Regions from separate parts of the Homo sapiens genome. Here region 2 is linked to region 1. Evidence: promoter capture Hi-C in 16 types of primary human blood cells and fetal thymus (Javierre and others, 2016). All regions are on one chromosome and are shown on one strand. Each heading gives the region's core, a stretch centred on a gene start or on the middle of the fragment in contact. The rest is flanking DNA. Distances are from core to core; before and after follow the strand shown. Region 1 holds the start of TESMIN (testis expressed metallothionein like protein). Region 2 has its middle 35 kb from the start of GAL.

Region 1 (3,733 bases), core at 924-3,423:
AAGAGAACAAGCCAACCAGTTGAAGGATTTTAAGTGTTCTGAGGCAACTAAGAGGATCATTGGGAGGGGGTGGTAGCTGGCAGGGAGGTTGACCCACTTAGAGTGGGTTGAGCTGAGACCTGAGAGACTCGACGGAGCCAGCCCGGCCAGTGCAGCAGGGCAGCAAGCATCTAGGAGCAGCAGGTGCAGAGCCTCCAGGCTTGATTGCAACCCGTGGGTGACCCCCACAGGTGGCTGTGTATGCCTGGCATGATGCTACTCAGTAGACGTCTGATTCTGATTAGTAAACGAATGAACGGTGCAACCTTGTGGGTTACTCTCTCGCTTGGGCCACTCAAGCTATGCATAATTCTTGGGCTCTTCGATTTATTATTTTTATTATTTTTTCTGCTTCTGTGAGTGTTTTTTGTTGTTGTTGTTTTTGTTTGTTTGATTTTTGAGATGGAGTTTCAATCTTTTTGCCCAGGCTAAAGTACAATGGTGCAATCTCAGCTCACTGCAACCTCCGCCTCCCAGGTTCAAGCAATTCTCCTGCCTCAGCCTCACAAATAGCTGGGATTGCAGGTGTGCACCACCATGCCTAGCTAATTTTGTATTTTTAGTAGAGACAGGGTTTCACCATGTTAGTCAGGCTGGTCTTGAACTCCTGACTTTAAGTGATCTGACCACCTTGGCCTCCCAGAGTGCTGGGATTACAGGCATGAGCCACCACGCCCAGCCCCAGGCAAAATTTTCTTGATTTTTGAATGTTAAATGTACAACTAAATAGTACACGGTGTTGCTGTGCCTTGGGTACTACCCTTTAAAAATTTAGAAAAGTATTTAATTTTTAAAAGTGAGATTAGAAAGCTGATGTTTTACATTCTTTATTTTTACCAAAACAGTACCTGAGTAGACAGTACCTGAGGCTGTCTCCCCAGCACCCACTCCCACCAGTCCCTCTACACCCTTTGCAGTTTTCGCCATCACTTGAATTAAACTTTCACCTCCTCTTGATTAAACAGTGATATCTATTGACTCCTTAAAGATGAAATAGCTCATTCCCCACCCAAAATTTGAGACTTTCATTGTATTTGTGAGTTTTTTTTTTTTTTTCTGAGAGGGAGCCTTTCTCTGTTGGTCAGGCTGGAGTACAGTGACACAATCTCAGCTCACTGCAACCCCCATCTCCCAGGTTCAAGCCTCAGCCTTCTATGTAGCTGGGACTACAGGCGTGCGCCACTACGCCCAGCTAGTTTTTGTATTTTTTAGTAGAGACGGAGTTTCACTATATGTTGGCCAGGCTGGTCTCGAACTCCTGACCTCAGGTGATCCACCCGCCTCGGCCTCCCAAAGTGCTGGGATTACAGACGTGAGCCACCACGCCCAGCCGTATTTGTTACTTCTATTTCGGGACCAACTCCATCAGTTGCACCTGTAAGCTGCGTCACCAAGGACCGGGAGTGGGTGCAAGGCTGGGAACGTGCGGTGCAAGCCCCTGCCCTCTGTCCACCCGCAGCGTCCCAGGCCGGGATCTGTCTTGAGAGCTCGAGTGTAGAAAAATGTTTTATTTTATTTTATTTATTTTTTTGAGACGGAGTCTAGCTCTGTGGCACAGGCTGGAGTGCAGTGGCGGGATCTCGGCTCACTGCAACCTCCACCTCCCGGGCTCAAGCGATTCTCCTGCCTCAGCCTTCCAAGTAGCTGGGATTACAGGCGCGTGCCACCACGGCCAGCTAATTTTTGTATTTTTAGTAGAGACGGGGTTTCACCATGTTGCCCAGGCTGGTTTTGAACTCCTGACCTCAAGTAATCCGCCTGCCTCGGCCTCCCAAAGTGCTGGGACTACAGGCGTGAGCAACCACGCCTGGCCAGAAAAATATAACTGAAGCCCAAGGTCAGAAGCCAAGCTAGGCAGTCCCACTTAGCGCTGCCCGAGTTGATGGGGACCTCAGTTTCCCCACCTGAGCCTGGATCGGCTGAACCTGGGAGTGCCTCCCCTGACCCGCTCTGGCAACAGCGGCAGTCCAGGCCCCGCCCCTCGCGACTCTGTCTCCTCCCGCCCCAGACCACGCCCACCACACCTCCCTGGCCCCGCCTTTACCTCCCCGCCCCGACCTCGACTCCGCCCCACGCCCAGGCCCCGCCCACTGCCCGGGCGCCTCTTCCCCTCCCCCCAGGTTCCTGTCCCTCACCCTTCCCCCTTCTCCAACCGCCAACGGCCGCCTGCGCCTGAGGCCCGGCCCACGCCCCATCCCGCTCGCTCCACGCTGCGGCAGCCCCGGCGGCCCCAGGTGCGTCCCTCCGAGGAGGAATGACGGGGCGGTCCCCGGGCTGGGCCTCGGCTCTGCAGGCGGGGATGGGGGCTGCCGGGCCGGGTCGGGCCCCTGCGGGTGGGCGGAGGGCGGCGGGCCGTGGGCGAGGCCGCCCCTCACCTGGTCGCACCTCACCTGGCCCCCCCTCCCCTGGCTGCTCCTCACCTGACCCCCTCCTCGGCCGCCCCTCACCTGGCCCCCTCCCCTGGGCGCCCCTCACCTGACCCCCACCCCGGCCGGCCCCTCTCCTGGCCGCCCCTTACCTGGTCGCCCCTCCCCTGACTCCCTCCCCTGGTCGCTCCTCACCTGGCCGCCCCTCACCTGGCCCCCTCCCCTGGCCGCCCCTCCCCTGGTCGCCCCTCCCGTGACCCCCTCCCCGGCCGCCCCTCCCCTGGTCGCCGCTCACCTGACCGCCTCCCCTGGTCGCTCCTCACCTGGCCGCCCCTCACCTGGCCGCCCCTCACCTAATCGCCCCTCATCTGGTCGCCCCTCCCCTGACCCCCTCACCTGGTCGCCCTTCCCCGGGCCCCTCACCTGGCCCTCCCTCACCAGGCCGCCCCCTCCCCTAGCCGCCCCTCACCTGGTCCCCTCCCCTGGCCGCCCCTCCCTTGGCTGCCCCTCCCTTGGCTGTCCCCTTTCCTGGCCGCCCCTCCCCTCGTCCTCTCCTCTGGCTGCCTCTCACCTGGCCGCGTGTTGCAGGTGCGCGGCCCCCGCCATCCCGCCCCGCCGCCCTGCGCCATGGAGGAGGGCCCTCTGCCGGGCGGGCTGCCCAGCCCCGAGGATGCGATGGTGACGGAGCTCTTAAGCCCCGAGGGTCCGTTCGCTTCGGAGAACATCGGCCTGAAGGCCCCCGTGAAGTACGAGGAGGACGAGTTCCACGTCTTCAAAGAAGCGTACCTGGGCCCGGCGGACCCCAAGGAACCCGTCCTGCACGCGTTCAACCCCGCGCTGGGCGCCGACTGCAAGGGCCAGGTCAAGGCGAAGCTCGCGGGGGGCGACAGCGACGGCGGGGAGCTCCTCGGGGAGTACCCCGGGATCCCAGAGCTCAGCGCGCTGGAGGACGTCGCGCTCCTGCAGGCCCCGCAGCCGCCCGCCTGCAACGTGCACTTCCTGTCCTCGCTGCTACCCGCGCACCGCAGCCCGGCGGTGTTGCCCCTGGGCGCCTGGGTCCTGGAAGGAGCCTCCCACCCGGGCGTCCGCATGATCCCAGTAAGAACCGCCTGGGGAATGGGCACAGCTCCCCCTCCATCCCTTCCCCAACCCATCTGAGGCTGCTAGTGTACCCCAGGATTTCCCTCTACAAGCATTTTCCCTGGTGACACCACACACAGCCCACCGGAGTCACTGATTCTCGGTAGAGCGTATACTCTTTGTCGTCTTCCTAATCCAACATGCATCGGCCCAGCCAAGCCCTTTCCCCTGGAGGGAATTCTGCCCTG
Region 2 (3,830 bases), core at 1,170-3,669, 100 kb after region 1:
AGGCCCTTCTCATGGAGAGGCAGCTCCTACCTCTACTTCCCCCGCTGGCCAGCCCCAGCTGCTGCTGGGAGCCAGAAGCCACTGCCATCAGAATCCCTGGGGAGGGGCTTAGCAACCAGCCCACAGCGGACGGGCCAGGGGGCCAGTGCCGGCCTGGGGACACCATGGGAGATGGCATGGCCAGGAGCTGCTCTCAGGGGCCCTGGAACAGGCCAGGGGGCAAGACGGGAGGGAGCCGGCCCAAGACTGCACTGGGTGAGGATGGGCGCTGGCTGTGACCTGGGTCCGGAGAGCCTAGTGGCCACCTAAAAGTACTGTTTAGATGAACATTTTTTGTTTCTGTAACTCAGGTCACCATTCCCACCAGAATGGAAAAATACACTGTGCTCACTTGGTGGATGGAACACTGCAGAGCAACGAAGACAGCAGCGCTCCGGCCACCTGCCACCCACCACCCCACGAGGATTGCACAGGCTCAGAGCACGGGAGCCCGGGAGCCACCAAGCCTTGCCCTCGGCCGGGCTGCCTTCGGGAGGGGGACAGGGAAGGAGCAGGGTGGGGACTTCGGGACGCTTGATGTTCTGGGAGCCGCTCTGCAGGGGCACACATGCCAAGAAATTCATCGAGTGGGTCCCTATGAACTACAGCTCCATTTATTTTTTTGTTTGTTTGTTTTTTTAGACGGAGTCTTGCTCTGTCGCCCAGGCTGGAGTGCAGTGGTGCAATCTCGGCTCACTGCAACCTTCACCTCCTGGGTTCAAGCAATTCTCCCTGCCTCAGTCTCCCAAGTAGCTGGGATTACAGGCACCGGCCACCACACACAACTAATTTTTTTTGTATTTTTAGTAGAGATGTTTCATCATGTTGGTCAGGCTGGTCTCGAACTCCTGACCTCAGGTGATCCAGCTGCCTCGGCCTCCCAAAGTGCTGGGATTACAGGTGTGAGCCACCGCGCCCACCGCCAGTTGAATTTTAGTTGTGGCGCCAACGCTCTTTTAAGCCTGTAGTCTGGCTGATGATGAAGCTCGCGTGCTTTCATTTTGCCTTTTGTGTCCGGCTCCTCTAGAGCGTCAGCTCCATGGAGGCAGGGACCATGATGTCCCCAGGGCCACGATGTCCCCAGGGCCTGGTGTGCAGCAGGAGCCAGCGGAACGACCACCCCTGCTTCTGGGCCACTCGCAAGAAGAGAGGTGCCGGCAGGAAAGGGAGAATCCGGATGGCGGGAGTCTGCCACGGATGGCTGATGCGGCGCCAGGGAGCAGGGCCGCCATCCAGGGCCCTAAAGTGGCCCATGACAGGCCCAGGTCGGGGAGCGGAAGAGGGTTCCAGGGCGCCCGAAGGACCTGGACTGAAACCCAGCATCCAGCAGAGCAGGCGGGAAAGGGGAGCTACCGTGGCGGGTGCTGATCCCTGCAGGCTCCGAGGACACAGGAAGCTCAGCTCTCCATCAGAGACGCCAAACAGGGCGGCGGTGGCTGGGATTTGGGGAGGGGTCCTCGGAGCACTCCAGGGCCCAGGCAGGAAGCAGCGGCCAGGACACAGCCGTGGGCAAGAGGCTTGGAGGGTCCGGTGGGAGTGAAACTGTCCTCGCTGGGACACAGCAAGAAGGTTGAAGGTATGGTGGGGTGGGGCTGTCCTCGCCGGCCCTTTCCCGGCCCCGGGGTGAGTTGAATAAAAGCTCAGATTTGAAGGCTTTTCTGCATTGCCTCCCTTAATGGGCTTAATGTCTCGGCTGAGCTCTAATGCCAGTCATTTTACCTCCCACGCATAGATTTCAGAAAAGAAAGCTTACAATGACCCTAGTCCGCTTTAGCAGAGAAAATAAAATAGTAGAAAAATAATAGTAAAAATGACTGTGTAACGTTCGTCACTTTTATTTTTGTATCTGTAAATGCAAGGATGCTTACAGTTTTTTTTGCTTACAGTTTTTTTCTCCCCTATCTGCCTGAATTTTTAACAATGCAAGAGATTAGGATTAATTTCCAAATAGCGCAACCTTTTTGGAAATGCACATTCTCCACAAATGAACAAACTGCTTGTGGTAATTAAAGTAATGTCGTGTGCTCAAATTGCTTGTGCTAATGAGGCTAATTGACAGCAGCGAGTATTAACCGCAATTAGTCATACATATCTAATAGCATCGCTGGTGCCTATGATTTTCTACGTGGAGGGGATTTTACATCTGCTTTCAGGATTTCCATCCTTGGCTATATGCATTTCTCTCAAAAGGATGCGCTTTTTCCTGGCATTCAGTAGTCGGGTGCTCTTTTCAAAGGTGAGAACAGAGTTGCTGGGGTAGAACATTTTAGGTGGGCTGATTTTTAAAGGATGTGGCAGCTTATCAACAGGGATAAATGCTGATGTCATGGAAGAACTGGGGTCAGAACTCAGAGGGGGGGCTCCACTGGAGAAATACCACGATAGAAAAAGAAAGACCCTAAAATCCAAAATGCTTTTTAAAAGGAAGCAAAAGCTGAGCACGGTGGGTCACACCTGTAATCCCAGCACTTTGGGAGGCCGAGGGGGGTGGATCACTTGAGGTCAGGAGTTCAAGACCAGCCGGGCCAACACGGTGAAACCCCATCTCTACTGAAAACACAAAATTAGCCAGGCGTGGTGGTGTGCACCTGTAACCCAGCTACTCAGGAGGCTGAGGCAGGAGAATCACTTGAACCTGGGAGGCAGAGGTTGTAGTGAGCCGAGATCGCACCACTGTACTCCAGCCTGGGCGACAGTGTGAGACTGTCTCAAAAATAAATAAATAAATTAATTAAAGCAAAACAATCAAATATATACCTTTTTATGGCACTAGAAATTCTATGAAAATAAAATATTTTAAATCCCCATCAAGGAAGCCACTCATCTGGGTGCTTTCTCTGTGTATCTTCTCTCCATCCAGGAGCAGAGGAAGCCCTTGGGGGCAGGGGCAGGGTCTGGCTGAATTATGTGAAACAAAACCTGGGTGCTTAATTTCATTCCTGAGAAAGGACGTTGGCAAAAGTTCATGGGACTGATGGGGCTGAGAAGTCAGATCCCCTGAAATAAAGCTTTTCATAGTGATCCCTCAGCCCCAGGGACCCAGAAGCAGAGGTGTGGGTTCTCAGAGAGAAAACTTCAGTTTCCCTCTTGGTTTAAAAAGAACATGTCAGGAGGGCCGGGCGTGTTGGCTCATACCTATAATCTCAGCAATTTGGGAGGCCAAGGTGCATGGATCACTTGAGGTCAGGAGTTAGGGACCAGCCTGGCCAACATGGTGAAACCCCATCTCTACTAAAAATACAAAAATTAGCCGGGCATGGTGGTGTGTGCCTGTAATCCCAGCTACTTGGAAGGCTGAGGCATGAGAATTGCTTGAATTCAGGAGGCAGGGGCTGAAGTGAGCCAAGATGGGGCCACGGCACTCCAACCTAGGTGACAAAGCAAGACTTTGTCTCCAGAAAAAAAAAAACAAAGAATATGTCAGGAGGCAAGCAGAAAGGAGGGTCACGAGTGGGGCACATAGCAGAGATTCTTTGGAGGAATCTAATTTCAGGGCAATTGGCCCCAACTTATCTCCAAAGCAGAGTTGGAACGGACTCTTTCTCACTACCACTGGTACCTGCCCAAATCTCCTAGACCAGCCTAGTACACCCTAGCCCCCAGCTGCTGTGAACATTGGCTGTTAACCTCTCACTGCTTTCCCCTCAATACAGAAGTGCCCTCAGCTGACGGAAATCACAGCCAATGATGACCTGATGCAGGCAATTAAAGGCCAGCCCTTTGCCTCAGCACGCTCCTAACCCCACAGTCATGGCCATGGCGCCACAGTCTTCCAAGCTCAAGGTGGGAGA

Evidence for each region. The method cuts DNA at HindIII sites, captures the fragments that hold promoters and counts their contacts. A CHiCAGO score of 5 or more calls a contact.
Region 2: a fragment that was not itself captured here is called in contact with the fragment with the promoter of TESMIN in region 1 in 1 of 17 cell types (endothelial precursors); the score reaches 5.8 in endothelial precursors.

The regions. Positions count from the first base shown.
Region 1 is chr11:68,749,960-68,753,692 of GRCh38, reverse strand. TESMIN (testis expressed metallothionein like protein) reads left to right here and starts at 2,173. Exons shown (of 10, transcript NM_004923.3): 1 at 2,173-2,273; 2 at 2,994-3,503. The coding sequence starts at 3,033. RefSeq lists silencers at 1,941-2,060, 2,071-2,360 and an enhancer at 2,061-3,046. The HindIII fragment of the contact is 16,735 bases long and covers 1-3,733 here.
Region 2 is chr11:68,647,668-68,651,497 of GRCh38, reverse strand. No RefSeq gene overlaps it. Among named protein-coding and RNA genes, the nearest start is that of GAL, 35 kb to the left of the region's middle. The HindIII fragment of the contact is 1,260 bases long and covers 1,790-3,049 here.